Linked DNA regions of Homo sapiens: regions 1, 2, 3 and 4 are each linked to region 5. Evidence: promoter capture Hi-C in 16 types of primary human blood cells and fetal thymus (Javierre and others, 2016). All regions are on one chromosome and are shown on one strand. The core of a region is centred on a gene start or on the middle of the fragment in contact, and the rest is flanking DNA. Distances in the headings are between cores, read along the strand shown. Region 1 holds the start of HCFC2 (host cell factor C2). Region 2 holds the start of POLR3B (RNA polymerase III subunit B). Region 3 has its middle 10 kb from the start of TCP11L2. Region 4 holds the start of TXNRD1 (thioredoxin reductase 1). Region 5 holds the start of APPL2 (adaptor protein, phosphotyrosine interacting with PH domain and leucine zipper 2).

The links. The method cuts DNA at HindIII sites, captures the fragments that hold promoters and counts their contacts. A CHiCAGO score of 5 or more calls a contact.
Region 1: a contact is called between the fragment with the promoter of HCFC2 here and the fragment with the promoter of APPL2 in region 5, in 6 of 17 cell types (monocytes, neutrophils, total B cells and 3 more). The highest score is 10.8, in monocytes.
Region 2: a contact is called between the fragment with the promoter of POLR3B here and the fragment with the promoter of APPL2 in region 5, in 1 of 17 cell types (neutrophils). The highest score is 6.4, in neutrophils.
Region 3: a contact is called between a fragment that was not itself captured here and the fragment with the promoter of APPL2 in region 5, in 1 of 17 cell types (M0 macrophages). The highest score is 6.5, in M0 macrophages.
Region 4: a contact is called between the fragment with the promoter of TXNRD1 here and the fragment with the promoter of APPL2 in region 5, in 10 of 17 cell types (naive B cells, activated CD4 T cells, monocytes and 7 more). The highest score is 10.6, in naive B cells.

Annotation. Positions count from the first base shown.
Region 1 is chr12:104,062,919-104,068,276 of GRCh38, reverse strand. It overlaps HCFC2 (host cell factor C2), which reads right to left and starts at 3,746. Exons shown (of 15, transcript NM_013320.3): 1 at 3,554-3,746; 2 at 1,962-2,110; 3 at 170-330. The coding sequence starts at 3,716. It also overlaps a transcript of GLT8D2 not described here. RefSeq lists silencers at 3,370-3,509, 3,730-3,899, 3,881-4,050, 4,060-4,219. The HindIII fragment of the contact is 6,452 bases long and covers 1-4,306 here.
Region 2 is chr12:106,355,765-106,361,808 of GRCh38, reverse strand. It overlaps POLR3B (RNA polymerase III subunit B), which reads right to left and starts at 4,061. Exons shown (of 28, transcript NM_018082.6): 1 at 3,858-4,061. The coding sequence starts at 3,929. The HindIII fragment of the contact is 8,226 bases long and covers 1,110-6,044 here.
Region 3 is chr12:106,289,522-106,295,059 of GRCh38, reverse strand. No RefSeq gene overlaps it. Among named protein-coding and RNA genes, the nearest start is that of TCP11L2, 10 kb to the left of the region's middle. The HindIII fragment of the contact is 3,895 bases long and covers 1,822-5,538 here.
Region 4 is chr12:104,212,121-104,218,092 of GRCh38, reverse strand. It overlaps TXNRD1 (thioredoxin reductase 1), which reads right to left and starts at 2,314. Exons shown (of 17, transcript NM_001093771.3): 1 at 2,200-2,314. The coding sequence starts at 2,290. RefSeq lists enhancers at 1,306-1,921, 1,922-2,538 and a silencer at 2,362-2,451. The HindIII fragment of the contact is 5,942 bases long and covers 1-4,038 here.
Region 5 is chr12:105,232,930-105,238,873 of GRCh38, reverse strand. APPL2 (adaptor protein, phosphotyrosine interacting with PH domain and leucine zipper 2) reads left to right here and starts at 2,700. Exons shown (of 21, transcript NM_018171.5): 1 at 2,700-2,915. The coding sequence starts at 2,862. RefSeq lists an enhancer at 2,317-2,817 and silencers at 2,682-2,821, 2,872-3,121. The HindIII fragment of the contact is 6,549 bases long and covers 1-5,362 here.

The sequences.
Region 1 (5,358 bases), core at 2,497-4,996, 1.2 Mb after region 5:
AGTATGCTCCAGGTACTAAGGAAAACACAAACACACACAAATCTGTCCACTGTTAGGTTGAAATGCAAAAAGCTAAGCATCATCCCTTTTAAAAATTAAAGATGGAAAAAATAAAATGTTCCTACTCTAAATCATAAAATAAGCATTTGGTCTGAAAGAGTCAGCATACCTGGGAACATTATTGTTTGAATCTTCGCTTTCGTTTGCCAGGCCACCAAACAAATAGCATTTGTTACCATATAAAGAGAAGCTATGTCCAAGCCGAGGACAAGGAGGTAAACCAGAAGGAGGGGGATGGGGTTTCACTTTTTTCCATAACCAACGACTTGCCTAAAAAAAAAAAGGGCACAAATACAGTCAGACAAAATCAAGAAAGCACTCCTATATTGTCAATAGTGCAACATCATATCAATACATTTTAATCTAAATCCCATCAGAAGGCACTAAAAAACTACTTTTGGGACAAATGACAAATAACCAGCTAACTTCTGGAATTAAAATATATGTTCCAGTAGACATTCAAGTTACTCTTCCATATTCACAGATTTCCATGGCAAACTCAGCATATAATAATAAACACTAACTGTTCTAAAGTAGTTTCCAAATGAAAAATAAAGTATTATACATAGCTTCAAGATTAAATGTAATTTATATATTCTTACTTTCTGAAAAAAGGTAATCCATGAATGGTAAATATTTTAACCTTTTAAAGGTAAACATAAAGCTCATTTAACATATCAAATTCCAAAACTTATTCTCTGGCCATGGATGTTTTCTTTAGCTAAAATTATTTTTGCAATGAGTTGCTTGTAAATAGGTATAACCACTCACATCTGCCAATTAGCAGATACCCGCATGATCACCGCCCTAGGGATAAGGCACAGATCAGGAAGAAAAGTCAACAAGGGCTATGAGTCTGGTTTAATAAGACTCAAATTTAGAAAGGTTATGGGAAACTGTTACTCCTCTTTTGTATGTATTGTCAAGGTGGGGGGTGTAGTAAATATTAGTATGAGGGTAACAATTTCTAAAACACTAAAGCAGTGGTTTTCAAAGTATAGCCTAGGGGCCAGGCATGGTGATTTTCCAAATGTGGAAAGTTTTATTCAAAGTTGTGAATATGTCAGTTGATACCAATGCCAACTATCCCTCTGTGAGTCCTGCAGTACTTAATACTTAAGAATTTGCGGCACAGCACGGTGGCTCACGTCGGCTAATCCCAGCACTTTGGGAGGCCCAGGTGGGTGGATCACCTGAGGTCAGGAGTTCAAGACCAGCCTGGCCAACATGGTGAAAACCCGTCTCTACTAAAAATACAAAAATTAGCTGGGCATGGTGGCGCGTGCCTGTAGTCACAGCTACTCAGGAGGCTGAGGCAGGAGAATTGCTTGAACCCAGGAGACGGAGGTTGCAGTGAGCCGAGATTGCGCGGCTGCAGTCCAGCCTGGGTGACAGAGCAAGACTCTGTCTCTAAACAAACAAACCAGGAGCATCAGCAGCTGGGAACCTGGTAGAAATGCAAATGCTCATGGCCTTCCTCTGACTCAGAAACTCTCTGGGTAGGACCCAGCAATCTGTGTTTTCACAGGTTCTCCAGGCGCTCCTGTTGCAGGCTAAAGTTTCTACTGCATTAAGATACAAAAACCTAAATATATAACATGTACAACTGATGCTACGTAACAGATATCTTGATGTTATAAATGTTGCACTGGGTATGGGAAAAAGACTTGCCAGGAAACTTTGGGTTTTAAGTGAAGTGGAAACATTTTCTATAAAGCTATAAAATGTGAAGTTTACATTACTTGAATAATATTACTTGAATAATAGTTTACTTGAATAATACATTACTTGAATAATATTAAAATGTGTTAAACAATGTTAGTAATGTTGCAATCTTTTGAAAAATTATGAACAATATCATTATTAAAGCCTCAGAATGAAACAATATTAAATACACTTACTTGTAACTCATATAACTCATTGCTGTATCTTCCATATTCAACCATTCCCCCAAATACTAATATTCTGGTACCATCACAGACAAATCCATGGGCAGCACAGCCTGGAGGGATATCTCCTCTAACAGCTGGCAGAAACCACTGATTCGTAGCTAGTTGCCAAAATAAAATGAAAACCGATTATAACAAACAACGGTTATCATATACTATCAGCAAATATATATCATCAATATCAGTGGGTCTCAACTGGGGATGATTCTGCCCCCCAGAAGACATTTGGTAATGTCTGGTGACATTTTTAGTTGTCACAACTGGAGGGGGCTGTTACTGGCATCTAGTAGGTAGAGGCAGGGATGCTGCCAAACATCTTACAATGTACAGGGCAATACAGGGCAGCTTCCCCCAACCTCAACAAAGAATTACCTGGCCCAAAAGGTCGAGAGTGCTGCTGTTGAAAAACCCTGATCTGTATCATTTAATTCTTACAAAACGCCCTGCTGGGTGAGTATAAAAATCTCTATTTTACAACTGAAAATTGTGAGGCTTAAAAAGGTTTGGTAACTTTAGCGCTGATCCTGGGCAACCGGCAGAGCAAGATTCAAATCAGGTCTAATTTGTTCCAAAGCCAGGGATTTTACACTAAGACCAAAGTGTCAGTAACTTTTTACCTTCATATGCTGGGGCGCTGGGAGGAGGAGAGGGTGAAAAAAATAAAACTTCTCAGACTCCACTATTTTGTTAACCTTCAAATTATTCCTGTGATTAAGTTGTTTGATCAAAGAAAAGTTATCGGTCATGAAGTAGACCCAAAATTCCATCACTGTCTTTACACCAAACAGATTTCTTGTGACAGCCTGAGCATTTACAAGGGGAAAAAAAAATTAAATCCAGTTTCCTTTCTATTCCACAGAGGTCCTCAAAGATAGGGGCTCCCTGCCCAGGGGCACTTGTGATCTGCAGTGGTGCTCAAGTTATGACAGTCCTCTTTCCGAGGGCCAGTCCAGAAGGGCGTCCACACCGAGTATGCAGACACAAGGCCGCCTCACCACGTCCCCGCCGCTTTAGAGCGCGGCTCACGGAGGGGCTCTTGACCGTTACCTGCCAAACACCGGGTTGTATTTGAGGCGAGAGTGCCAGAAGGCCTCTCGTTTTCCCTCCTCACCCCCTAGATGGTCTTCCTCCTAAGGAAGGAAGGCAGGCAAAGACGGGAAAGGCCCTAAGGAACTTTGGTTTGGAGTGGGTTTTGTTTTTTGACAGAGGCGAGATTTCGGGGAGTGGCCCAGGCGGTTGGACATGGTCTTCTGTCGCCTGCGTCCGCCTGTCGGGCTGGGGTGGGGGCGTCCGGGATCCCCCGCCTGAAGGCCGGTGCGCCCCGCTCGGGGTCCGTTGCGCCCCAAGGGCCCCGGAGATCCTGAGCTGCGGTCCGGGACAGAGCTGCCGGACCCGGGCTGCCCGGCTGAGCCGCGCTCCCCGCCGCCCGCCCAAGGAAGCAGTGACCGGGCGGTGACAGCTGTCAGGGCCGCGGCCGCCGCCTCGCCTCCCCTCCCCCTCCGCAGCTCCAGCAGGCGGGGCCGACGAGCCGCCGCCGCGCCTACCCGTGTTGTAGACGTGCAGCTCATCCGCGATGCCCTCATTTCCCCCTCCAAAGATGATCATCAGCTCCCGGATGGCCACCGCTCGGTGTCCGTGCCGGGCGCGGGGGACCGGCCCCGTGAAGGAAGAAACTCGCCTCCAGTTGAGGAGGCTGGGAGCCGCCATCTTCCCAACCCCCGCCCCTCTGCCCACAATGCACCGCTCCCGCCTCAACCGGCTGCTCCCTGGGGAGGGCGGGGACCCGCCTCCAGCTGTGCTGGGGTCACGTGGCCGCGGGCGCCGGCGGCCAGGCTGGAGGCCCGCGGGCAGTGGAGAGACGCTGGGGAAGGGGGGTCCTGACAGGGGAGCCCCGCCCCCACCCCAGGCGACTTGGCCAGCGGCCACCCGGAGCAACGCACCTTAGGGTGGAAGGACGCTTCCCACTGACCACGTCTCCCATCCCCACCCAGAGCCTCCCGTTCGGTATTTTGGGAAGAAGCCACAGCATCTTCCTTTACGTCCACTTTAATTGAGCATCTAGGATGTGTGGGCGAGGCAGTCTCACAAGCAACGTGAGAGAAGCTCGGGTAGAGGTTCGAAGAGCTGGGAGCGCAGGGCGGGGACCTCGCACGGGAGGGTGCGGGCGGGAGCCTGCCTCGCGAGCCCGGGCCACGGCGGCTGCTCCCGACCGTGACTGGGACCCGGGCAGGGAAGGTCGCTACAAAGCCTGCCGGGCGAACCGAAGGCAGCTTTGTGCGGAGCCATGCCAGGAAGCTTGGGAACCGTGAGCCACAAGAGGTATTTTTGGTTTGTTTGGCTTAAGCAGAGGAGAGATGGTTTTCTAGGTTTCTGTTTCATTGCTAGCTAACAAGTGAGGGCTGTCCACAGCCTGGCATGCCCTAAGTGCCTCATGTGTATTAACTCATGTAATCCATCCAGCAATCCAGTGTGGTGGCTCCTGTTATCTCCCTTTCATGGACGGGGAAATGAGGCACAGTGCAGTAAGGTAATTTTCTGATGGACACAAAGGAGAGGTGTTGAAAAAAAAGACTGGGGCCAGGATTCCAACACAGGGCTTCTGATTCCAGAACCCCCAAGCCCTTATATCATATACCATACTGCCTCTGATAGCAGTCATATCCAACCATTATACCATACTGCCTCTGGTAGCAGTCATACGCAACTCTTTATTTTTATTTATTTATTTTAGATAGGGTCTGGCTCTGTTGCCGGAATGCAGTGGCGCGATCAGAGCTCACTGCAAGCTCGAGCTCCTGGGCTCCAGTGATCCTCCTGCCTTGGCCTCCCAAAGTGCTGGAACTACAGGCATGAGCCACCGCACCCAGCCAATGCAACACTTAATAAGGCCTAGCTGCCCTGTGATTTGGTCCTACACATAATCACACAAGTCCATTAGGAATAAAACTGCACTGCATATGGGATTCATGCCAAATGAGTAGATTTTAGCCACTCTTGCCACAGAGACACAAAAAGGGTTGGTGGTAACTATATGAGATGATGGATATGTTAATATGCTTCACTATAGTAACCTTGTGACTGCCTGTTTCAGCTGTCCCCAACCTTTTTGGCACTAGGGACCGGTTTCATGGAAGACAATTTTTCCACGGACTTGGCAGGGGAGTGGGTGGTATGGACTTGGCAAGGGGATGGGGGCTATGGTTTTGGCATGAAACTGTTCCACCTCAGATCATCAGGCATAAGATTCTCATAGGGAGTACACAATTTAGATCCCTCCTATGGGCAGTTCACAGTAGGGTTCGAGCTCCTATGAGAATCTAATGCGCGGTTGATCTGACAGGAGGCAGAG
Region 2 (6,044 bases), core at 2,812-5,311, 1.1 Mb before region 5:
GGCCTTGTCACACCTCTTTTTCTCTGCCACCCTGCAAATTTTGGTGTTCTTCAAAGTTCTATCCCTGGCGATGTCTTTTCTCAAGTAGGGCTGGGAATGGAGGATTTCAAACAACACTGTTTGAAAGTGTTGTTTAGCTTCCCCCATCTCATCCCACAGCCCCCCAGTTCCAAATGTGGGCTCTTTCAAGGGCAGTGACCCTGTCTATCCTGTTACCACAGTGCCTGGCACATAAAAGACTCCAATAAATACTGAATAAATAAATGAGTGAGTGAATATCACTGTTGCAGTAAGCTACTGGGTATGGGCCTGTCCCCTCCAACTATTGACTGGGCAGTGATACCTTACAGCCTCAGAGGCTACTTAAGATCAGTATGTCCAAAATTAAATCTTCCCCCAGCTCCATTCTCAATCTCAATGAATATCACCATTTATCCCAGTCAATCCCAAATTAGATACCCGGGAGTCCTAACTTTCTGACTCTTCTTAATCAACAGGAAAACAAAAATTCTACTGAGTCGACCTCCTTTTAACCTTCCTCGCATTTATCCTCTGCTCCTGTGCCAGTTGAGGCCCTCATAATCTTTCAGCTGGTCTGCGGCAATACTTCCTTACTACTCTTCCTGCTCGTCCCTTTCAATGCTCAGCACTAAAGCCAGTGTACATGTCCTCATGTGCACAGCTGAGCACCTCATTCTCTACAACTCTTCAGTGCCTCCCCACCCTCTTCACCATGTCTTAACTCCACAGCGAGGCATACATCATATGCTGTGCTTGCAGCTGTACTTGTGCCTACGCCTCCTCCTTCTATCTGGAATGCTTCCGCACCACCACACTTCATCCACATCTGGCAAACTCAGTTCAGGCATCACATCCTAGCTACCATTTGTAATACCAAAATACCCCTCGCCTACTTGTATCACAGTACCTATTGCATGTTATTCCACTTGCTTACACGTCTCTCTCTATAAGCCTATAACACACTGGGAGGCAGAAAACACATTTTTTGAACTTGTATAAACCCTGTGAATAATACACCACCAGGTAAGTACTCAGTAACACTGACAAATATTTATTCAACAAGTAACTGATTAATTGGCTCCAAAGCTTGTGTTGTTTCTACCATACTACCATGCTGCTGTGCTACCATAAGCACAAAAAAATACACACCAGGCATGGCCAGTTCAAGTAAAACTGAGCTCCTAACTAGAAAAAGTTGCAGCGAAAACACTGAAGTTGGAAAGTTTAAGTAAATATTTTAATATCTCAATTTAAAAGGAAATGGCAGCAAGTAGCAGAGATCTACCATCTTCTGGGAGAATCAGGAAAGGCCTTCCTAGGGAAGTTATATTATAGATATGTGGGATTTAATCTACAAATAGGAAGGGGAGAGCGATCCAGAAGAAACTGAGCAGAGTAGAAAGATCTCAGGGGAGGGAGAGGGGGGAACCATGGGAAAAGAGACTAGAGAAGTAAGCACTGGTCAGACTGAGGAAATTTATTACAAACATGGTAAACACTAGATTTTGCCCTAAGAGCAATAGGCAGAGATTGAAGAACTTTAACCAAGGGAGCAACATAACCATGTTTGTGTGTTTAAACGGACAGCTCTGGCTGCAGAGCAAGGAACAGACTGGATTGGGACAAGTCAGGTGCCAGGTAGGCCAGTTAGGAAGTAAGAGAGGACAGTCGTTCTGGGCTGGAAAACGGTGGGAATGAAGTTTCAGATATGCATAGATTAAGAACTCAGGACTTTTTAGAGGTGATGGTGGATTGGATACAGAGTGCAGGAAGAGGAACTGTTATTCTTCAATCAGAAGGCTGGAATTATAGCACTGTTCACTTCATAGCTGTGTAAATTCAGATAAGAAATAGAAATCTCCCAGGCTTATTTCTTCAGCTCTCTGGAGAAGCGGTCCGATAGCAGTTAGGGATGAAGACTCGAGTCAGACTGACAAGAGTCCAAATTCCAGATTAGCCACTACCAGGCTTCTAATGCAAGGCTATTTACTTAACATCTTTGGGCCTCTCTGGCAAAATGGGGGTGAAAATAGTACTTATTTCAGAGGATTAAATAACATAATGCATGTTATGGTTAAACAGAACCTGGCACATTAGCAAGTGCTCAGTGAATGCTGGCTCTTTGATATTCACTTTTCACGGTTAAAATACAGTTTTGCAGCCGGGCACGGTGGCTCACGCTTGTAATCCCAGCACGTTGGGAGGCCGAGGCGGTGGATCACGAGGTCAGGAGTTCGAGACCAGCATGGCCAACACAGTGAAACCCCGTCTCTACTAAAAATACAAAAATTAGCTGGCGGTGATGGTGGGCGCCTGTAATCCCAGCTACTTGGGAGGCTGAGGCAGGAGAATTGCTTGAACCCGGGAGGCAGAGGTTGCAGTCAGCCGAGATTACACCACTGCACTCCAGCCTGGGCGACAGAGCTAGACTCCGTCTCAAAAAAAAAAAAAAAAAATAGTTTTGCCTGATGATCAGCAGCCTATTGCATGCACTTATAGACTGAATCTGTTGGAACTGCTAATTCAACTTCCTTAACTTGTCAAACTATTATAAAGAGGTTTTGTTTTGTTTTCCTTGAGACAAGGTCTCAGTCACCCAGGCTGGAGTGCAGCAGCACAATTACGGCTCACTGCAGCCTCGACCTTCCAGGCTCAAGTGATCCTTCCACCTCAGCCTCCTGAGTTGCTGGGACAAGTGCACGCCACCACACCCAGCTAATTTTTGTATTATTTGTAGAAACAGGGTTTTGCCATGTCGCCCAAGCTGTTCTCAAACTCTTGAGCCCAAGTGATCCGCCCGCCTTGGCCTCCCAAACTACTGGTATTACAGGCCACCACGCCTAGCCAAGGAGGTTCTTATAATCCGATAGACTTACTGATCATGTCACTTTCCTGCTTAAACCCTTCAAAAGCTCTGCTCCAAGACAAAGTCCAAGCTCTGTCAGATGTTTATTGAAACTTTTCATAATCAAGACCCTTACTTAACCCTGTCTTTTATCTCTTCTCCTCTATTTTTCTTCACTCTAATACTACTGGATTTACTTTCCTTCCTCAAAAACATCCAATGGTCTTGCCGAGGAGGTTTCAAGTATCCTGTTCTCTTTCCCTGAAATCTCTCCTTTGCTATCTTCTCCGGCCACGTCTCCACTTCCCTATTCCACGTCAGTGTAGATTTTGAGGCTCAGAGAGATTACAAAATGTGCCTTATCAGATAACAAAATATGTCGACAGCCGCACTTCACTGGGCAGCTCGCTGTGGGGCAGCTGTCCTTAACTTCCGAGAAGCTGATGAAAGCTGTGGAGTCTCTCCCCCAGAAAACACACAGGCAAATTCTTTAGTAAATATTGAGGGCGTTTAAAATTCCCCTGCAACCCAAACTGGAACTTCAAGTTAAAAGGAAAGATGACTAGCTTGGAATTCAGACGATCTGGTTTTACCCCCACAGCCGGCTGTGGTGCCTCATGCAAATGGCCTGAGCTCCCTGGCCCCGTGTCCTCTGTAAGACTGCAAACATGCAATACGTCCCCCACAGTAAGTGCGAGGGTCAGTCCTCCCCACGCACACCTATGCTGGAAGAGCTCCAACCCTAGAGCCAGCAGCGGGGCTTCTCGGCCCCCGCAGCGGCTGACAGCTCCTCTGGGATCAGCCTTCACTCGCGCACGCGGAGGCCGGCTCTGGAAAAAAGACTCGCAAGCGCGACGCTCTGGGCATGCGCAGAAGCCCGGCGCATGCGCACAAACCGCCAGCCCGCCCCCTTGGCGGCCCGAGCACTCCGGGCAACGCCCCCTCAGGGCGCATCCTTGTCCCTGACGCTCCCTGCGTGCCTGGCACTGACCTCTACAGTCGGGATCGGCGCCGCCAGCTGCTCCGGAGTCAGGTTCCCAAACTCCTCCGCTAGCACGTCCATGCTGCTCACGAAGGAGGAAGAAACAGATAGAACCTCCGCGCCCGCCTTCCCTGCACCAAGCAAACTGCAAGACTCCCGGCGAACGGTGCGCGGAGGCCTAAACTGTCCCCGCCGTGCGTGTTAGCTAGAGACGCGGTAGAAAGGTTCCGCCCGCTCCCTGCCCGAATCTGCGGTGGAACCCGGATGTGGCCGAGGCCGAGTAAGGAAAGTACGCCCTCTGGTGTAGCTCGGAGGTCTGGCGCAGGGAATCCTAAGCCCCAGCTGTCAGGTTTCTTGCCAATTCTCTGGTAATTGAGACCAGCAAAACATAGTGGTTGTCATTTTAAAAGTAATCCGAAGAAAAGTGTAAACGCATAATTTACGCAACTTGAACCACTGAGGCAGAGAATTATTTAATGTAGTCCAAAATTCTATGCATTGTTTAGTATGGAAGAGCAGGAAACGTCCCAAATGCCTACCAATAGAAGATTGATTAAATAAATGATGGTACATGCGTGTAATGGAAGAGTGTTGAAAATTCTCAAAAGCACTAGATGGAAGATGTAGGAGTAAATACCCAGCGCATGGAGAAATTTAATATGAAAAGATGACATTTACGTTAGTAGGGGAAGGATGGCCTGTCCAGTAAATAATGTTTGAAGAGCTGATTACCCATTTGGGGAAAAAATACATGTAAGTGAATCTTTTGTGGATTAAATATTGAAATGTTAACAAAAACTTAGAAGAAAATGTAAGTGCAGATATTCATAACATTGAGATGTTGAAGACTTTCAAGACGGCAACAGTCAAATCATAAAGGATTTTATAATCTAAACACGATTTTATGATTCCACGGAAAATTTTTAATTTTCTGAACAGATTTTAAAAAATCACCAACAAATAGAATTAATAAAAAATAAATTGGCAGAAGACAAAGGGCTGGTCTCTCTAATTTAAAATGAGCTCATACAAATCAACAGAAAGAAAAATCCTATTAGAAAAAACAAGGCAAAATGCACCAATTAATTAATGGGTACGGAGTTTCGGTTTGGGAAGATGCAAAAGTTCTGTAAATGGAGAATGGTGATGGTTGCACAACAGTGTGAATGTATTTAATGCTGCTGACCTGTACATCATTTTAAAGGGTTAAAATGCTAAGTTTTATGTATATTTTACAACGATAAGAAAAGTTATGAAAATTTGTAAGTACATATATGCTTTCCAATTTCTCCCTCATAAAGGTAGAACCCTTGCACCAGGTTAATTATTCTTATTTACTAAAGAGCTACTTAAATTTCAGTACTTGTATTTTCTTTTTTTTTTTTTTTTTTTTTTTTTTTGAGACGGAGTCTCGCTCTGTCGCCCAGGTGGGACTGCGGACTGCAGTGGCGCAATCTCGGCTCACTGCAAGCTCCGCTTCCCGGGTTCACGCCATTCTCCTGCCTCAGCCTCCCGAGTAGCTGGGATTACAGGCGTGAGCCACCGCGCCCGGCCGTATTTTCTAAGTATTGCACTGATATCTGAAATACGAGAAGAATGGAAAAAACACCAAAAGTAGAATCAACCCTGCCTTTGAAGTTCTTACAATTTACTTATTACAGAGACAAGATACAACTTGTGTCTCATCATTGTGCATTACCAGATTGCAACCAATTTAGCATCTAGCCTAGAAGGGACTGTGAAAGTGATTTATAGATGGCAGAGGATCTCAAGGTTGGCTCAAGTGTGTTGGTTGTCTGTGCCAAAGTCTTCTTTGCTTTCCATTATCAAGGTGATTCTCCGACTTTAGGGTGTATCAGAATCACCTGGAGAGCTTGTTAAACTAATCTCAGCTTTCTGATTGGTAAATTGGGGCTGAAATTTTGCTTTTTTGGTGGGGGGCGGGGATGGAGTCTTACTCTGTCGTCCAGGCTGGAGTGCAGTAGTGCAATCTTAGCTCACTGTACCCTCCCAGGTTCAAGCGATTCTCCTGCCTCAGCCTCCCGAGTAGCTGGGATTACAGGCGCGTGCCACCATACTCAGGTAATTTTTGTATTTTTAGTAGAGACGGGGTTTCGCCATATTGGCCAGTTTGGGCTCAAACTCCTGACCTCAGGTGATCCGCCTGCCTCGGCTTCCCAAAGTGCTGGGATTTCA
Region 3 (5,538 bases), core at 2,520-5,019, 1.1 Mb before region 5:
TAGCTAATTCCATGAGCTACCAAGACCCTCTGGTCTCAGTTCCATGAGCTACGAAGACCCTTCTGGTCTAGTCAGACTAAGGTGTATTATTTGCCACTAAGAACTTTGACTAGAACAAATACTCCATAACCTGTGGGAGAATTAAAAGAAATAATGTATATGAAGAGTTGAGCAGAGTGCCAGCGACATTGTATGGATCAGTAAACTGTAACTACTATTATTATACTCTTGTTATTTTAATGATTTAATATTTACAGTTTCGACAGGTCCTGGGCAACTTAAAGGTCTGTGACATGCGATAATTTAAAATTCTGCCAAGGAGCAAATTTGAATCTAATAAGTTGGTGGTACAGGAGCCATTTATTTACCTCACAAATGAGCCTAACACATCACCCAGTATTTATATATCAATGTGAGGATTACTATTCTCCACTCATTAGGCCAGTAAGTCAGATCCATTCAGGAAAATAATATAACTTTATATTGTGTTAAGAACAATGATCCAAAAACTTGGATAATTATCCAAACGTTATCCAAAGACTTGGAAATAGGCAAAAGGGATTACTGGATGTCCTTTTAGTAGGGTGCTGTGTAGTGCAGTGTAGTAGCAGACTCGTACAAGGATTCATGCATTATCTAGGACTGTGTACCTTTGTTGGACTTACTACTCGTTATTGGTTCAGATATTCCAGAACTTTGTAAAGGCAGATGTTACTTTATCAAAAACTGATAACAAGGGCCCAGTGTAGTGGCTCACGCCTGTCATCCCAACACTTTGGGAGGCCAAGATGGACAGGTTGCTTGAGGCTAGGAGTTGGCGACCAGCCTGGGCGACATAGAGAGATCCTGTATCTACAAAAAAAATACAAAACTTAGCTGGGCAGGGTGGCATGTGGCTGTAGTCCCAGCTAATCAGGAAGCTAAAGTGGGAGAGTCCCTTGAGCCCAGGAGTTCGAGGCTACAGTGAGCTATCATCATGGCACCTCAGTTTAGCCTGGGTGACAGAGACCCTATGTCAAAAAACCGAAAACCAAAACCCAAAACAAAACACCAAAAAATTGATAACAATGCAAATTATTCTTGTCCATTTCTAATACAAGTAAAATCTTTTCTGTTCTATAGAAAAGATAAAAGCTTACTATTTATTACCTTATAAGACATTAACCAATTTTGTGTCTAACCTAGTAATCTTATTGTAAGATTTTTAAAAATGCATTTCTTGATGGGATATATAAACCCCTATTTCTCAAATATTCCTTAAACCAACTTTACCATTTTACTGGCTAACTCTTTAATTGATGAAATAAATATTTTTTTAAGCCCGTGTTTGTTCTGTTTCATATAAGTCATGTTTTCAATTTGTTGAAAATTATACCTTGACAAATAGAAGTCAATCCAAGGGGCCACATAGAAGGAGCATGTAATCCAGAACTGACGACCCCCAGGTAGGCTTCCTAGAGAAAGGAGTAGCCAAGCAGATACATGTACAAGAAGTTCTCAAGTGATCTCAACAAAACAGATTCAGGCCCCTAAATCAGTATTTAGGTCAAATTCATTGTTGAAAAATAAGGCTGATATGAGCTTAACTGATAAGGAAGAAAATTGGAACTACTTAGCTAAAAATCTGGATTGGTTTAAACTGCTTCAGTGTTGCTTTTATAATTTTCAAAAACGGCAGCTCACTTTGGAACCACAGGTACCTGCGAACTGTGGGAAATTCACCATTCTTGCCAAATGAGGTGAGGAACTCAATTCACTTTCTAAATCTACATAGATGGTTCTGCGCCATTTCTTCAGGAGTCCAAAGCTGAACCATAAGCTTGATGTAGAGGGCATTGCAATGAGTGGCTTTCAGCCCACAGGTGGACTTTGAATTTGAATGCCACAAGCCCACCCCTCTTATATGTAGCCTACTTCATTCATTTACATGGTTCACCTAGCTCTTTAAGCATTTTTGCCATCTCCATGAAGAAAAGTAGGGCCCCAAGCATTGTTTTCACCCATGAAATCTGCTATGCATGACTAGATGCAAAAAAGCAGACTTCAGGAAATCTTTTAAATGTACAGCATGTATCACACATATCCTGTAATTATTGGAGGACATGAAAGTCACTCACTTCAGACTGTTCCTTGGGCACAAGGAATGTCTTCTACTCATGAATACAAGCAATTTAACTGTCTGAAGGCTGAACTCAGAGGCTCAAATTAATTGCCTGACTTTGGACTAACAAGGGTTTCAGGGTTTTTTTTTTTTCCTTTTAGCAGGAGGGGTTGTGCAAAAATTAAACTTCTCCTGAGCACCTAAAGTCTCCAGATGCTGGGCAGGTAGTGTTTACCAACACTCCCCTCAATAGCTGCCTCTTATTCTCAGACTACCTGATGGCTGAGACCACGATGTCTCTTTTGGGCAAAGTCGTTCTCATACTTGCTCCATAAAAGGGGAAAATACAGGTATGGGAGTTCCTCTTCTGGAGTACAGATCTGAGGCACATGCAGCTATGCCCTAACCCAAATACACCTCTTGGTCATGGGTGACGAGAATAGGAGATACTTCTGCCTGTGCATTGGAGCCTGCAGTGAGCAATGCTTGCTCGTGTTTGCCCCAAAACCTTTTTCAGACAATAACTCTTTATATCCATCTTTGTTTCTTTATTTTTTATTTATTTATTTTTTTAATTTGAGACGGAGTCTTGCTCTGTTGTGCCCAGGCTAGAGTGCAGTGGCACGATCTCGGCTCACTGCAACCTCCACTTCCCGGGTTCAAGCAATTCTCCTGCCTCAGCCTCCAGAGTAGCTGCGATTACAGGTGCCCACAACCACACCTGGCTAATTTTTTGTATTTTTAGTACAGATGGGGTTTCACTATATTGGCCAGGCTGGTCTCGAACTCCCGACCTCAGGTGATCCTCCCACCTTGGCCTCCCAAAGTGCTGGGATTACAGGTGTGAGCCACGGTGCTGGGCCTATATCCATCTTTAAATTAATCTATGTTATTTTGCACGGTGCCTGTGACATAGTAGTTTCTCAGTGCTGTATATACTGATTGGTAAGAGGACGTTACAGACACACTTCTAAATACTGGCTGGGAGTGCGGGAAGTTAGTTGGCAGGGACAATCACTGATTAGGAGGGAAGTTAACTCTGACGAACTTTGACTATAACTTCCTTTTTCCTTTTTTCTTTCTTTCTGCTTTGCCTGAAAATTAGGAAATAGACAAGGTAGTCAGAGGGGTCAGAGAGCTAATGGTGAAAATTAAGAAGAAAATATATTCCCTTCTCTCTGCTTAAATTGCAAAGGGATCTCTGTCCCTTTAAAGAAAATCAAAAGCTATATGACCGCAGAGATTCTTGAGGAAAATCTACATAGTTTTTCTGGAGACACGATAAGCTGAAACAAACTCCAGGCAAACCAAGAAAGATGAAGAATCATTTAGGACTACCCAGAATTCTGCAAAGTACGGTGATTAAGCAGTGTTTCAAACAATTACAGTCATGGTTGCTTAATGATCAGGATACACTCTGAGAAAGGCATCATTAGGTCCTTGTGCAAACATCACAGAGTGTGCTTACGCAAACCCAGGTGGCATAGCCTACTACACACCTAGGCAATATGGTCTAATCTATTGCTTCTAGGCTACAAACCTGTACAGCACGTTACCATACTGAATATTGCAGGAAATTGTAGTAACACTATGGCAAGTATTTGTGTGTCTAAACATATCTAAACATACAAAAAGTAGAAAAAATATGGTGTAAAAGATAAATTATGGTACATGTATCTAGGGCAGCTACACTGTAATCTTATGGGACCACCATCAAATATACTGTCCACTATTGACTGAAACAGTTATGAGATGCATGACTGTATAATTATTTACAAAGACACATAACAACATAAACATTTCTTTTGGGGAATAGTAGCAGGGTTGGGAAAAATAGCATACAGGCAGTGGAAAGAGGGTAGATTTATTAAAAAAAAAATCAACCTTCTGTTTGAATTGCAGCACTACTATCTAAATGCTGAAGGATTTTAGGCAAGCTGCTTAACCTTTCAAAGTCTGAATTATCTTGTCCATAAAATGAGAATGATCAGGCCTAACTAATTGGGAATCCTGTGAAAGTAAAATGAAATGAACATATGTAGACTATGTGCCAGAGAGTGACTTATCTACTTCCTTTACCTGCTGGTCACACAGCCTCCCTTATGGTTAGATATTGACTTACTACCGGATTTACTGGATTCTGGCCAGTGAAATAGGAGGGAAGTGATGGATGGATCTTCACTCACTTTCTTGGGACTCCAGATTCATTTTTTGTGTGTGACAGGGTCTTGCTCTGTCACCCAGGCTGGAGTGCAGTGGCACGATCATAGCTCACTGCAATCTTGAACTCTTGGGCTCAAAATATCCTCCTGCCTTGGACTCTTGAGTAGCTGGGACTACAGGTACATGCCACTGTGTCCAGCTAATTTATTTTATTTTATTTTATTTTTGTAGAGACAGGTTCTTGCTTTGTTGCCCAGGCTGGTCTCGAACTGCTGAGCTCAAGTGATTCTCCTGCCCCAAGCCTTTAAAAGTGCTGGGATTACAAAGGTGAGCCACCGCACCTGGGTGCCCTGGACAAAATTGTACCAATAAAATTGATACCATCACTGTTTCATTTATATATCTGGTTACATCTCTTCCTCCCACTGGACTCTGCGCAGATAGGTAATCTTCTTCATGGCTGTCTTTCTAGTGCCTGATGTGGTGTCTGGTACAAAATTTGGTTCTTCATAAATATTTTGTAAATAAATAAACAAATGAGCTACCCCAAAGCTGAGTCTTGAGGGGTGAGTTAGCTAGAAGAAGAAAGGGAGTCAGAGTGTTCTAGGTAAGGGGACAGAATGACAAAACTCAAAGAGGTGAGAAATGGCAGTGTGTACCTAGCGGGGAAAAGCCAGACTTAAAGAGCAAGAGGGATGATACATTTCGCATTATTTAGTTGATTTCTCTTTGTATAAGTCTCGCCAATCTAGTTTTTTCTTAATCCCATTGAAAACGAGGGGAAAAAAAGGCCAGGTGCGGTGTCTCACGCCTGTAATGCCAACACTTCGGGAGGCCAAGTCAAGCAGATCACTTGAGGTCAGGAGTTTGAGACCAGCCTGGCCAACATAGTGAAACCCTGTCTCCATTAAAACTACAAAAAAATTAGCTGGGCATGGTGGCTGCTGCCTGCAACCCCAGATACTTGGGAAGTTGAGGTAGGAGAATCACTTGAACCCGGGAGGTGGAGGCTGCAGTGAGCCAAGATCGTGCCACTGCCCTTCGGCCTGCGCAACAGAGCAAGACTCAATCTAAAAAAAAAAAAAAAGGGAGAGAGAGAGAGGAAGAAAAGAGAAAACTAGCTTTTGGTGTAATATTCAGGTCCTGAAGCAGTGGTTTTATACATTGGTATATCTTAGATATTCCTGCCCACCATGCTTCTGTTTTCATATTTCTCAGGATTTCTCAAGGAGATGAGAGAAAGCCACAGAGACCGATGTTTCTGCTTCCATACC
Region 4 (5,972 bases), core at 1,065-3,564, 1.0 Mb after region 5:
TCATGCCACGGCACTCCAGCCTGGCGATAGAGCAAGACTCCATCTCGGGAAAAAAAAAATGTGGTGTGTGTGTGTATATATATTCCATTTTGTGTGTGTGTGTGTGTATATATGTGTGTGTGTATGTACATATACACACACACAATGGAATATTATTCAGCCTTAAAAAGTAAGGAAATCCTGTCGCATGCTACAATACAGATGAAACTCGAAGACAAGTATGCTAAGTGAAACAAGCCAGTCACAAAAAGACAGACACTGTATGATACCAACTTATATAAGCAATCTAAAGTAGCCAAATTTCACAGAAACAGAAAGTAGAATGATGGATACCAGGGGCTGGGGGAAACGGCAAATGAAAAGTTAACGAGTTGGCATGGAGTTTCAGATTTGCAAGATGAAAAAGTTCAGGGGATCTGCTTCACAACAATGTGAATATACTTAATACTGCTGAAAACTGTATACTTAAAAACGGTTAGGGTCAGCTGGGTGCAGTGGCTCATGCCTGTAATCCCAGCACTTTGGGGAGCTGAGGTGGGCAGATCACCTGAGGTCAGGAGTTCAAGACCAGCCTGACCAACATGGTGAAAACCTGTCTCTATTAAAAATACAAAATTAGCCAGGCGTGGTGGTGCATGCCTGTAATCCCAGCTACTTGGGAGGCTGAGGCAGGAGAATCGCTTCAACCTGGGAGGTGGAGGCTGAGGTGAGCCAAGATGGCGCCATTGCACCCCAGCCTGGGCAACGAGAGCGAAACTAAAAAAAAAAAAAAAACAAAATTGTTAAGATGGTAAATTTTTTTTTTTTAACCACACACAAAAAGAATGTAGCTAAAGAAAAACAGTAAATAAATGGAAGGACATAGATATCAAGAAGATCCTGAGGATGGCACATGAAACGTCAATTTGGGATGCACCTGCTCAAACTCCTTCATTGTACTAATGGCCACAAATTAGCTGCCTGACCTGGACCTTGCCTGACCTTGCTCCTACCCTGTTCCTTTATTCTTCCCTTCCCCTAATCCAAGTCCTTAACTCCAGCAGGATATACAGGCCTCCCTATCTCTAGCATGGTCTCACCGGCTGCTTCCCCTAACAAGAATGTTCTCCCTTCAGACACCTCTACCAAATCCTACCTCATCTATGGGAGCTGCCATCCCCACTTGGCTGTTTTTACCACTCCTTTTAGCCCTTCACCATATGCTGCCTTGTAACTAAACTGTAAGCCTTTGAAAGAGGCAGATCCTACAGCATTTAATAATTCTAGCCATTGGGCAAGGCACTTTTTGGAGCCTCACTTTCTCAAGCCTATAAAAAAGGTGGAGGCGGCCATATGACTATGACCAGGGCTTTTGAGTCAGATGGCCTCAACTGGTATCCCAGCTCTTCCACTTACTAGTTGTGTGCTTTGGGTAAGTTTTATAACCTCTTTGCTTCTCAGTTTCTTCATCTGTATAATGGGGTTTATGATAAATCTCTCAGTATGGCTGGAAACATGAACCAAGATTATTACCCATGTCTAGTGCTTCCAAAGGCCCCTCTCATGTCAGTGCTTAGTAACCACTAGCCATTATTGGCATTATCCGGACAATGGAGAAGAGACTGGGAGCTTTCTCTTCTGGAAGAACAAGTGAAAGGATAAAGCGGGATGATGGTGGGAGAAATGTGCCCAAAATTCAAGGGGATGGAGAAAGGGGGCCGGGAAGGCGTGTCGGACAAGATTCTCGATGGAGGAGGATGCTGGGAGTGGGCCGGGGGCTTCTGGAGAGGTGAAGGGGCACCCCCGGACTCGGCTGTCGGTTTGGTCGCTTCCCCCGTAACCTTTCATTGGAAACACGGTGCTTGTAGGAAGAGGACGCCCTAACGGGCCCTGAGCGAAATCAGGCGGGTCGCTGCCGAGATCTCGGTTCGGTTTCCGACAGGTTTCCGGGCAGGTCCTCGCGGCGGGCCCGCTCCTCCTTCCACCTCCCACCTCTCTCACAGCCAGCGGGCGGGGCAGCCCTCGGCCGGCCGCCGGCCTCCGTCTCCCGGGGTGACCTGGGGGAGCGTTTCTGGGGTCTCCAGCGTGGCGCGCGGTCAGTCACTGACTCCAGTGAGGGGCTTCAAGGCCAGGGCTCCGGGGCACTTTATCCCCAACCCCGGCCGGAAGGCCCGCTTCGGCCCGTCGACCTGGGGACCAGGCCTTCGCCCTCGGTCGTACCTGACCTACGGCGGCCATCGCCGTTCTTGCCTTTCGTCTGCAGCTCCGTTGGGGCGGCCGCCGCCACTGCCTTGCCCTCGGCGCAGCCCATGTCGCACAAGGCCCTGTGGGAACTGACGGAGCCGAAGGACGCCTGGCGGAGGCCGCGAGCCCCCTGCCGGCCGCGGGTCGGAGAACGCGGTGGGCGGGGCGCTCGGTGACAACAGCGAAGTCATAGCCCGTGTATCTTCTTCAAGGTCGTGAATTTTTTTTTTTTAACAGGAAAGAACGGTCGCTAAAGGTAAATTGGAAAATGCAGAAATGGAAAGGAGAAAAGAGCGCACCACCCAAAATCCTTATCCTTCGGCTGGGCGCGGTGGCTTACACCTGTGCACTTTGGGAGGCCGAGGTGGGAGGATTGATCGCTTGAGCCCAGGAGTTTGAGACCATCCTGGGCAATGTAGAGAAACCCTGTTTCTACAAAAAATAATTTTAAAAAATTTATCCTTCACACAAACTACTTTTGCTGTGTTTACTATTTCTTTCCAGTTTTTCCCCTCTATGCATAGTTTTGCATCCAGCATTTCACTTAATACTAGTATTTTCCATACTATCACATAGTCTTGTAAGCCTCCCAGATAACCACCTGGCTTCCACTGTCACTTCAGTCTTTGCCTCTTTGACCGTAGATGAAGCATACACTGAACATCGTAGTTTCTTTTTAATACACTTTATTTTTTAGAGCAGTCTTTTTTTTTTTTTTTTTTTGAGACGGAGTCTCACTCTGTCACCCAGGCTGGAGTGCAGTGGCGCGATCTCAGCCCACTGCAACCTCTGCCTCCCAAGTTCAAGCGATTCTCCTGCCTCAGCCTCCCGAGTAGCTGGGACTACAGGCGTGTGCCACCATGCCCAGCTAATTTTTTGTATTTTTAGTAGAGACGGGGTTTCACCGTGTTAGGCAGGATGGTCTCGATCTCCTGACCTTGTGATCCGCCCGCCTCGGCCTCCCAAAGTGCTGGGATTACAGGCGTCAGCCACTGCGCCTGGCCTTAGAGCAGTCTTAAGTTCACAGCAAAAAGACCATCCTATTTGAACAGAAATCTGATCACGCCCCCCTCAACTCTACCCCCACCCTTTACTTTACTCTATTTTATTTTTACCAGCACTGAGAGCCTTCTAACTTACCCTATATTCTCTGTCACCTGCTCCCACTCCCTCCGCCAGCCTCCCCACGACACCCTGCCCATGTAAACGCTGCCAAAATAGAACCTTTGCATTTTTTTCTTGTATCTTGGCCTTCAGCTTGGGCCAGGTGGCCTCCCCCACCTCTTGAAGGAAAGCAGGGAAGAAGCGGGAAAATATTAATTTGAATAATTATAATAATGTAATAGTCCATCCACTAGAGCTACTGGACGATTACATAGCCTATTATTAGATGTTTAGTTTGTTTTTTATTTTTAAAAATTATGAATAAGGCTGCAGGGAACATCTTTGTGTTTATAGTTTTAAGGCTGTCATTACACGTTGCCAAAATTGCTTTTTTGGAACTGTGGTTCCCATTTGAACTCCTACTAGTAATGAATGAGAGTGATTTTTTTTAACACCAAACCACATTGCGGCACATCAGGTGCACAGTCACTGTTCTCTATCAGTGCAGTGCTCTGTTTTTCCTTCTTTCAATTAACTAACATATGGTAAGCATCCAACTTATGCCTGGCTTTGTTTAGGGTTACAAGGTGACTCAAATTCCCTGGTCTCAAGGAACTTCCACCCCAGCTGAGATTTAGTGAACTTGTCTGGTCACCAGATGCGTGGCAATTGTGTGGGCCCTTTGTTTTCATTTGGGTTTGTGGACAAGCTTATATCCTGCTTCTCTGGAGAGCAGCCCAGAGTCAAAATGCTCTTGGAAAACACTGGGTGTTTATTTGCTTAAACACAGAAAACAAATAAAACTGAACCAAAGGCTTTTTTTTTTTTTTTTTTTGGAGATGGAGTCTCGCTCTGTTGCCCAGACTGGAGTGCAGTGGCACGATCTCGGCTCACTGCAAGCTCCGCCTCCCGGGTTCACGCTATTCTTCTGCCTCAGCCTCCCTAGTAGCTGGGACTACAGGCGTCCACCACCACGCTAATTTTTTTTGGTATTTTTAGTAGAGACGGGGTTTCACCATGTTAGCCAGGATGTTCTCAATCTCCTGACCTTGTGATCCACCCACCTCAGCCTCCCAAAGTGCTGGGATTACAGGCATGAGCCACCGTGCCCGGCCACCAAAGGCTTTTAATAACAGACATTGCACAAAGCTAAAGTAAATCTCTCTCTCTCTCTTTCTTTTTTTTTTTTTTTTTTTGAGATGGAGTTTTGCTCTTGTTGCCCAAGCTAGAGTGCAATGGCACAATCTTGGCTCACTGCAACCTCCACCTCCCAGGTTCAAGTGATTCTCCTGCCTCAGCCTCCCAAGTAGCTGGGATTACAGGCATCAGCCACCATGCCTGCCTAATTTTTTGTATTTAGTAGAAAAAGGGTATCACCATGTTGGTCAATCTGGTATCAAACTCCTGACCTCAGGTGATCCACCTGCATCAGTCTCCCAAAGTGCTCGTATTACAAGTGTGAGCCACCGTGCCCGGCCCTAAAGTAAATCCTAATAACAACTTCATCCAAGTGTTTGGTGTCTGTAGTAACTAATGCAACTAAGCCAGGACCCTTTAAAAGCAAAGTTCCCTCCCTCTGCGAGCCAGGTCTACAGTTCCTTGGTTCCACTGGAATGACTGTTTCAGAGATTTTTTTTTTAAATATGCTATTCAATTTATGTTAAAATTACCATTTTATCATCAAAATTCCAACTGTGGCTGTCATGTATTTTTCTCTATTTAGTACATGTATTTAACTAAGATGATGGCTTTCCTGTTATTTTAAACACCTAGGCAAAAGTATCTGAGAGTCATGTGCCTACCTGTGTCATCCTATCATATTTATAATAGCCAACAATTTGTTGGGTACTTACGGCGAGCCAGGCATCCTGCTAAGTCCTTTACTGGCATAAAAGTATGCTTATCTCATGTTTTTCCTGCAAGAGCCACATTTAGAAGGGTCTCTTATTATTCCTATTTTACAGAGGAGAATCCTGATGCTTAGGGGATTAATTGCACAGGATCACACAGCTTGATACTGAAATCCAGGTTTCCTAATTTCCAAGCCTCTGCTCTTAACCACTAACCTCTCTTATTACTATGACATCACACTCCACTAATTCCTATACATGAAAAGAATGTTTCCCTGGGAACTTTGTTTTGAGATTTAATTTTTTTAATTTTTTTTTTTTTTATGAGATGGAGTCTCACTATGTCGCCCAGGCTGGAGTGCAGTGGTGAGATCTTGGCTCACTGCAAGCTCCTCCCGGGTTCACGCCATTCTCCTGCCTCAGCCTCCTGAGTAGCTGGGACTACAGGCGCCCGCCACCACACCCAGCTAATTTTTTTTTATTTTTAGTAGAGACGGGTTTCACCGTGTTAGCCAGGATGGTCTCGATCTCCTGACCTCGTGATCCCCCCGCCTTGGCCTCCCAAAGTGCTGGGATTACAGGCTTGAGCCATCGCACCCGGCCTAATTTTTTTTTTTTTTTTGAGATGGAGTCTCACTCTGTCACCCAGGCTGGAGTGCAGTGGTGCCGTCTTGGCTCACTGCAACCTCCACCTCCCGGGTTCAAGCAGTTCTCCTGCCTAGCCTCCTGAGTAGCTGGGACTATAGGTGCACGCCACCACACCTGGCTACTTTTTTGTATTTTTAGTAGAGATAG
Region 5 (5,944 bases), core at 1,451-3,950:
GTGTTATTCTAGAATTATCTCGGCAAGTGCTACTGAAGCACACTCAAGGAAAGGAAAATGTATTCTGCTTGGGGGGACAGGAGTAAATGAAGACTTCATCAAAAAAGTCACATTAAACTGGGATTTGATGATTGTGGTTGGGTTTGTCAGACAAGAGGCAGGAGAAAGGGCTTGACTGGCAGAGGAAAGAATCTCAATGCGTGTGCCCTATCATGCAGTTTGCTAAGCATCTCCCAAAACAGCTGCCTTCTTCACTCCTGCCTTTCTCTCTTACTCCTGAAGCCCCAGGCCTTCTCTGACCTGGCCATCCTGGGTCCTTTTTTTGTGTCTCACTGTGTCCTTTTCCCCACTGGCCTTCAATGGGTCACAGGTTACACCTCCATATAATTCATCCTCTCTCTCTTCAGACATCACGACAACTCCAGACTGTCCATCTTTATACTTCCTGTCACCAACTTCACAGCTGACCAGGGATTTCAGAGACAGTGGGGTGGATTTCTAAAATCCACCTGCATAATAGTTTAATAGGAACAGATATATACTCTTTAATGAAACATTTTTAAATGTTCATGTTGACATAAAAATTCCTCTTATGTAGTTTCTCACAGATTATCAAAGGAGAGGATATTTGCCTTCAGAATTTAAATGAGAATCAAACAAGTGGGAGACAGTGCTTAACACTGAGCAGTCTATATTTAATACATGAATGAATGATTGGATGAATTAACAAATGAGATAAATTAAAACCATTTATGCATGTGTTGTATTTCCAGATCTACTTTTGTAACTTAGTTGTTTTGAATTTGGGATAGATTTTCCCATAGAAACAATGTTGTAAACAGTTCTTAAGTTCCAAGAAATCCCACTAAGGCTGTTTAGCCCATAATGTAGCAAGAAAATGCAGAAAAGTAATGGGATAGCTTAAACAATTTTTGAATGTTGAATACTAGTATTTGAAGAAAAGTAACTTTAATTAGAAGATGAGGTGGTACATGAAAAATGCTGTGATTCCCAAGGGGCTGTCTGAGCCCTTTCAAGGGTTCTGAGGGCACTAACTTCTTGTAATGCATATTTTCAAATTAAAATGTGCACATTTATTTCCCTGGGTATAATACTATCCTTGTACTGTTCTCGCAATCAGGATGAAGGAAGAGCATGAGTCTGGCCGTGAGGAATTAGATTTCAGTGAGAAGAGAGTCTGGGACACTGGATGAGGTAAAATGAACTGAATGGCAGGCGGTATAAAATAGAGGAAAGGGAAGAAATATGGTGTGAGCATGATTCCACCTATAGGGAAGACAAGAGTATGGTGGAGGCAAGAAAGAATAGGGAAGAAAGAATACTGTGGAGGAAAATATGGTAGATGGAGGCCATAAAATGGTTCAGGTCAGGTTGGCGCTGGCCAGACCAAGGGAATAATGGCCTTGGAGTTTTCAAGTGATCAGGCAGCATGCTACTATACTAGACTGTCAGAGGTGTCAGCAATGCAGATTGGGTCTTGATATACCTAAGAGGTCTCTGCAGAATGCAGAATTTATATATTACCATATCCCCTCTGTTGATTTTGGTGACACACATACTGCATGATTTTTTTTTTTTTTTTTGAGACGGAGTCTTGCTCTGTTGCCCAGGCTGGAGTGCAGTGGTGCCCTCTCGGCTCACTGAAACCTCTGCCTCCCGGGTTCAAGTGATTCTTCTGCCTCAGCCTCCCGAGTAGCTGGGATTACAGGCGCATGCCACCACGCCCGGCTAATTTTTGTATTTTTAGTAGAGACGGGGTTTCAGCATCTTGGCCAGACTGGTCTTGAACTCCTGACCTCGTGATCCACCCATCTCGGCCTCCCAAAGTGCTGGGATTACAGGCGTGAACCACCACGCCCGGCCAGTCTTATTAACTTCTAAAGAAGGAACTTCAGAAACCCTTGCCTTCCGTGTAAAAAGGTGTCACGTTCCACTTGCCAGTCTTCTTCCATCCCTCTCCCTTCCTTCTTTTCTTCCTCTGGCGTTTACTAACTGACCCTGGGCAGACCACTTATTTCTCTGGGTCCCATTTTCTCATCTCTAAATGACAACACTGGAACCTAGATTATCTAGCCCTTCCAATTCTAAACATTTGATTATGAAATTCTCCAAAATCACAAAACATAAACCAGGAGGACGAGACCTAATTATGACCACATCAAATAGCTGTGGTTTCCAAAGTGGTTATTTCTGATTATCACAGACGAGTCAGTTATCCAGCTTTTCTCCTCTTTTCTTTGTTCCCATAGCATAGGCGACCTCTTTGCTCTCAGAGCTGTTTCAGGGGCGTCGAAATTTATCTAGAAAAAGTGGTGTGGGAAGTGTGGGTTTTTCCTTCCATTAAAAGAAAAAATCTGTTCGCTCCTTCAACTCAAAAGGCTTTCTGGGTAGCCATAAGCAGATAAAACCTTATCTTTCTACCCTCGAGTTCCTCTTTTGGACTTCATATGCATTGACTTGACGGACCTTCAGCACAGAGAACAAACACCCGAAGGGTTCCCTCAGCAACGGGACTGGCACCCAGAGCCCCCCGCTCCCCGCGAGCCGGCGAGCGCAGGCGGAAGCGCGGGCGCCACATTTCCGGTGTCGGGACCGGAGCTCACCACACTTCCGGTTTCCCTGCCGGGCGCGCCACACTTCCTGTTGATCCGGCTCGGCCGGGGGCTGGGCCGGCGGGCAGGCGGCGGCGGCCACTGGCCAGGCGTGGACGCGCGCGGGGCCGCCGCGGGCACGGAGTGGCCGCCGCGTCGCCTGAGCCCAGAGCCGGGGAGTGCTCTCGGCCGCCGCGTCTCCTGCCCTCTGTCCTTCCAACCCAGCCCTCGGCTGAGCCGCGCCGCACCATGCCCGCCGTGGACAAGCTCCTGCTAGAGGAGGCGTTGCAGGACAGCCCCCAGGTACCTCCCGCCGCTCCGGTGCCCCTCGCCCGCAGGGGTGAGGCCGAGGAGGCCCCTCCAGCCCCGGAGTGGAGGCCGCGCCCCCGGCCGGGCAGCCGCGGGAGTGCGCCCGGCCCCCTCGCGGCGCCTCCCACCGGGTTCTCTCGGGCTGAGGAGGGGGCGGGCCGGGCCCTGAGTCCTGAGCCGGGGCAGAGCTGTGGAACAGGGGAGAGAGCCCCGCGGCCGGAGTCTTGATGTCGTGACCCCCCTGCAAGCTCAGCTGCAACTGAGTCTGCGAGATCTAAACTTTGATTCCATGTAGTAGCTGAGTGCCTCAGGAAAACCACCTTATTGTGCCTTAGTTTTGTCGTCTGTAAAATAGGAATAATAATTGTGCCTGCTTCATAGGGTTGTTAGGAGAAGTCAATGAGAAATACCTGTAAAGTTGTCAGCAGACAATGTCCGGTACAGATAATGAGTCAGTCTTATTACTGCTACTCCTAATGATGTGATGAGACTTGTGCCAGCCAGAATGAGAGGCAGAGGGCCTGGATCTCTTTTCCGGCGGTACCAGGCCTCCTTTTGGCACCGTTTTCCCATTAGTGAAGAGAAAAATACAGTACCTGCCCCATTTGTCGCACAAGGGAACTTCATTAGCACACTCGAGATGAGAGTCAAGTCCTTTGAGCTCTGCAGATGAAAACTGGTGTGTAAATATAGCAAATGAGTGCAGGATGACATTAGTTCATAATTCAGCACATCTTTCCCCAGGGGTCTTTTGTTCTCCTTTGTTTAACATTTCTCCAGCTTCGTACCTACACTCCTGGTTCAGCATCCCGGGTTTATTTAAATAAGTGCCTTTATTTCCTAGTGTCTCAACTCTTGAAAACTTAGAATAAGATTAACCTATTTTCGTTTCACACTTTCCCCTCTCTTTTGGGGTTCCTTCCCTTTTTCTTCTAAGTGAATAATACTTCCCAGGATGATCCTTGTATGGATTTACCTACATCGACAGTTCAGAATAAGTCCGAAGGGCTGTATGCATAGGTGTCTTTTGTTCATTTTTTGTGATCCTCCTAGTGTAGATAAGTAAGGAACTGGAAGCAAGCTGTGTGTGTGTTTTTTGTTTGTTTGTTTTGTTTTTTGGTAAGTTTGCATCCTCTGGACGACTTTTTCAAGGCCTCCCTTTTTTATATGGCTGTAGACTCCTGGCATTTTAATCAGACTAAAGCCCTTGGTAGAAGGCATTTTGTCCATGTTCATATCTGTTGTGTGGAATCTGAAGATAGCAATGTGAGATTTTAAATGATCACTTTGAACAAGGATCTCTGTTTGCCTTGCACTTATGGAAACTGAGGTGCACAGAAATATCCTGCTTTTCTAACCTACATGGTGATGCCTAAGCCAGGTTACAGTGATTATACTAACTGATTCTTGATGTTGTCCTCACAAACAGATCATATTCTTAATTTCCAGCTCTAACATAAAGGAATATACACTGTTTGTGAGTGGCTTAAAGGATTTGCCCAGCTGTGAGGAAGTAGACAGGACTGTAGAGCAAGTCAGGAGACCTGGGTTCTAATTCTGGCTCTCACGCTCACTTAGGATGTGATGTGGGTGAGTCTCTTCATCTCCACCCTGTAGCTGGCTCAGTTTCCTAATCTACAGAACATCTACAGAATGAGAGACAGGGAGGGAGCAGGTGATCTTCAAGGTGCTTTAGAGTTAACATTGTCATATCTACATGGTGTATAACTTTGAACTTGTATGTGGCAGAGGAGGTTTAGAGATATTATCATTCTTATTTAATATGTTCCTTTTAATATAGGAAGTTTATTTGTCATTGCTTTTGAGACTTGGCCATCACCCTTAAGAGGGCTCTTGATGGTGCTGTTGTGCAGAATGGAAGCTGACTTTAAGAAGGTCTTTAATGATCATCAGAGCATATTTATATACTACTCTCTTGTATGTGACCTGTGCCTAATGTAGCTTTACTCCCAAGGTGACTCCTAGACTTGGAACTGGAAGGAATCTAATCCATCCCCTTCATTTTATGTGCAAAGCATAAAAACAATAGCAAATGCCTGTTTCATGGATTTTATGTGCCAGGGACTCTTCTAAATGCTTTACATATATTAACTCACTCAATCCTCCCAATAGTCTTGAAGTACATTCTCTATTTAAATAACTAAGGAGCAGAGAAGTAATTTGCTTAGAATTATACACCATAAAGTGACAGAGCCAGGACTGGAACCCAGGCAACTTGCCTGTACTAGGGATATGGTTCAAGTTAGCCCAGCTATCTAGCACCGGGCTTTTCTGTCATCAGTGACCTAAAATGTTTCACTAAAAGGAAAAGATCCTAATAAACCATCTATTGTGTGTTTCTTCTAGTTTTATGAAGAGTAATTTTGAGAGTTGCTTCAGTAATGTGATTGCACAGGATGAATTAAATGAACACCAAAGCTTTTGTAATTGAACTGAGTGACCCAGGAAGAGCTGAATAGCAGTTAACTGACCTTAGACACATCTATTCATGGACTCCTTTTTAGTTTGCAGTGCTGCACGATGCATTGTAAAACTAGTCTGTGTGCATACACATGCGTTATTTCTGCTTACCTCTCATATGTGGGAAGCTGAACATTTTAGGGATTAAGAAATCTGCCTCCATTGTTGTTTAGAAGCCTCTGCTCCTTGCCTGGCACTACTGGCTGTTGGGAATGTGAAGATAAATAAGAGTGACTACCCTTGACTGGTTCACAGTTTGTTCCAGAGACAGATAATGAGGCAACAGTTCCAGTACAGTGTGAATCCTGCTGCGATAGGAACACAAATGCAGCTTTGAGCTCCTGCAGCTTGTACTTCTTCAGGGGCTTATTCTCTTGTCCTGTAAGTAGTACACTTTTGAGGTAAGGTGAAGACAACAGCACTGTTGCTTGCTCGGTTTGTGTTTTGTTTGTTTCTTTTGCGATTGGCATAACGGAACAAAGAAATAAAAGATGTAGTTCTGAGGTTATGCAGTTGAGTGGCCCGGCTGGGAGCAGCCCTCT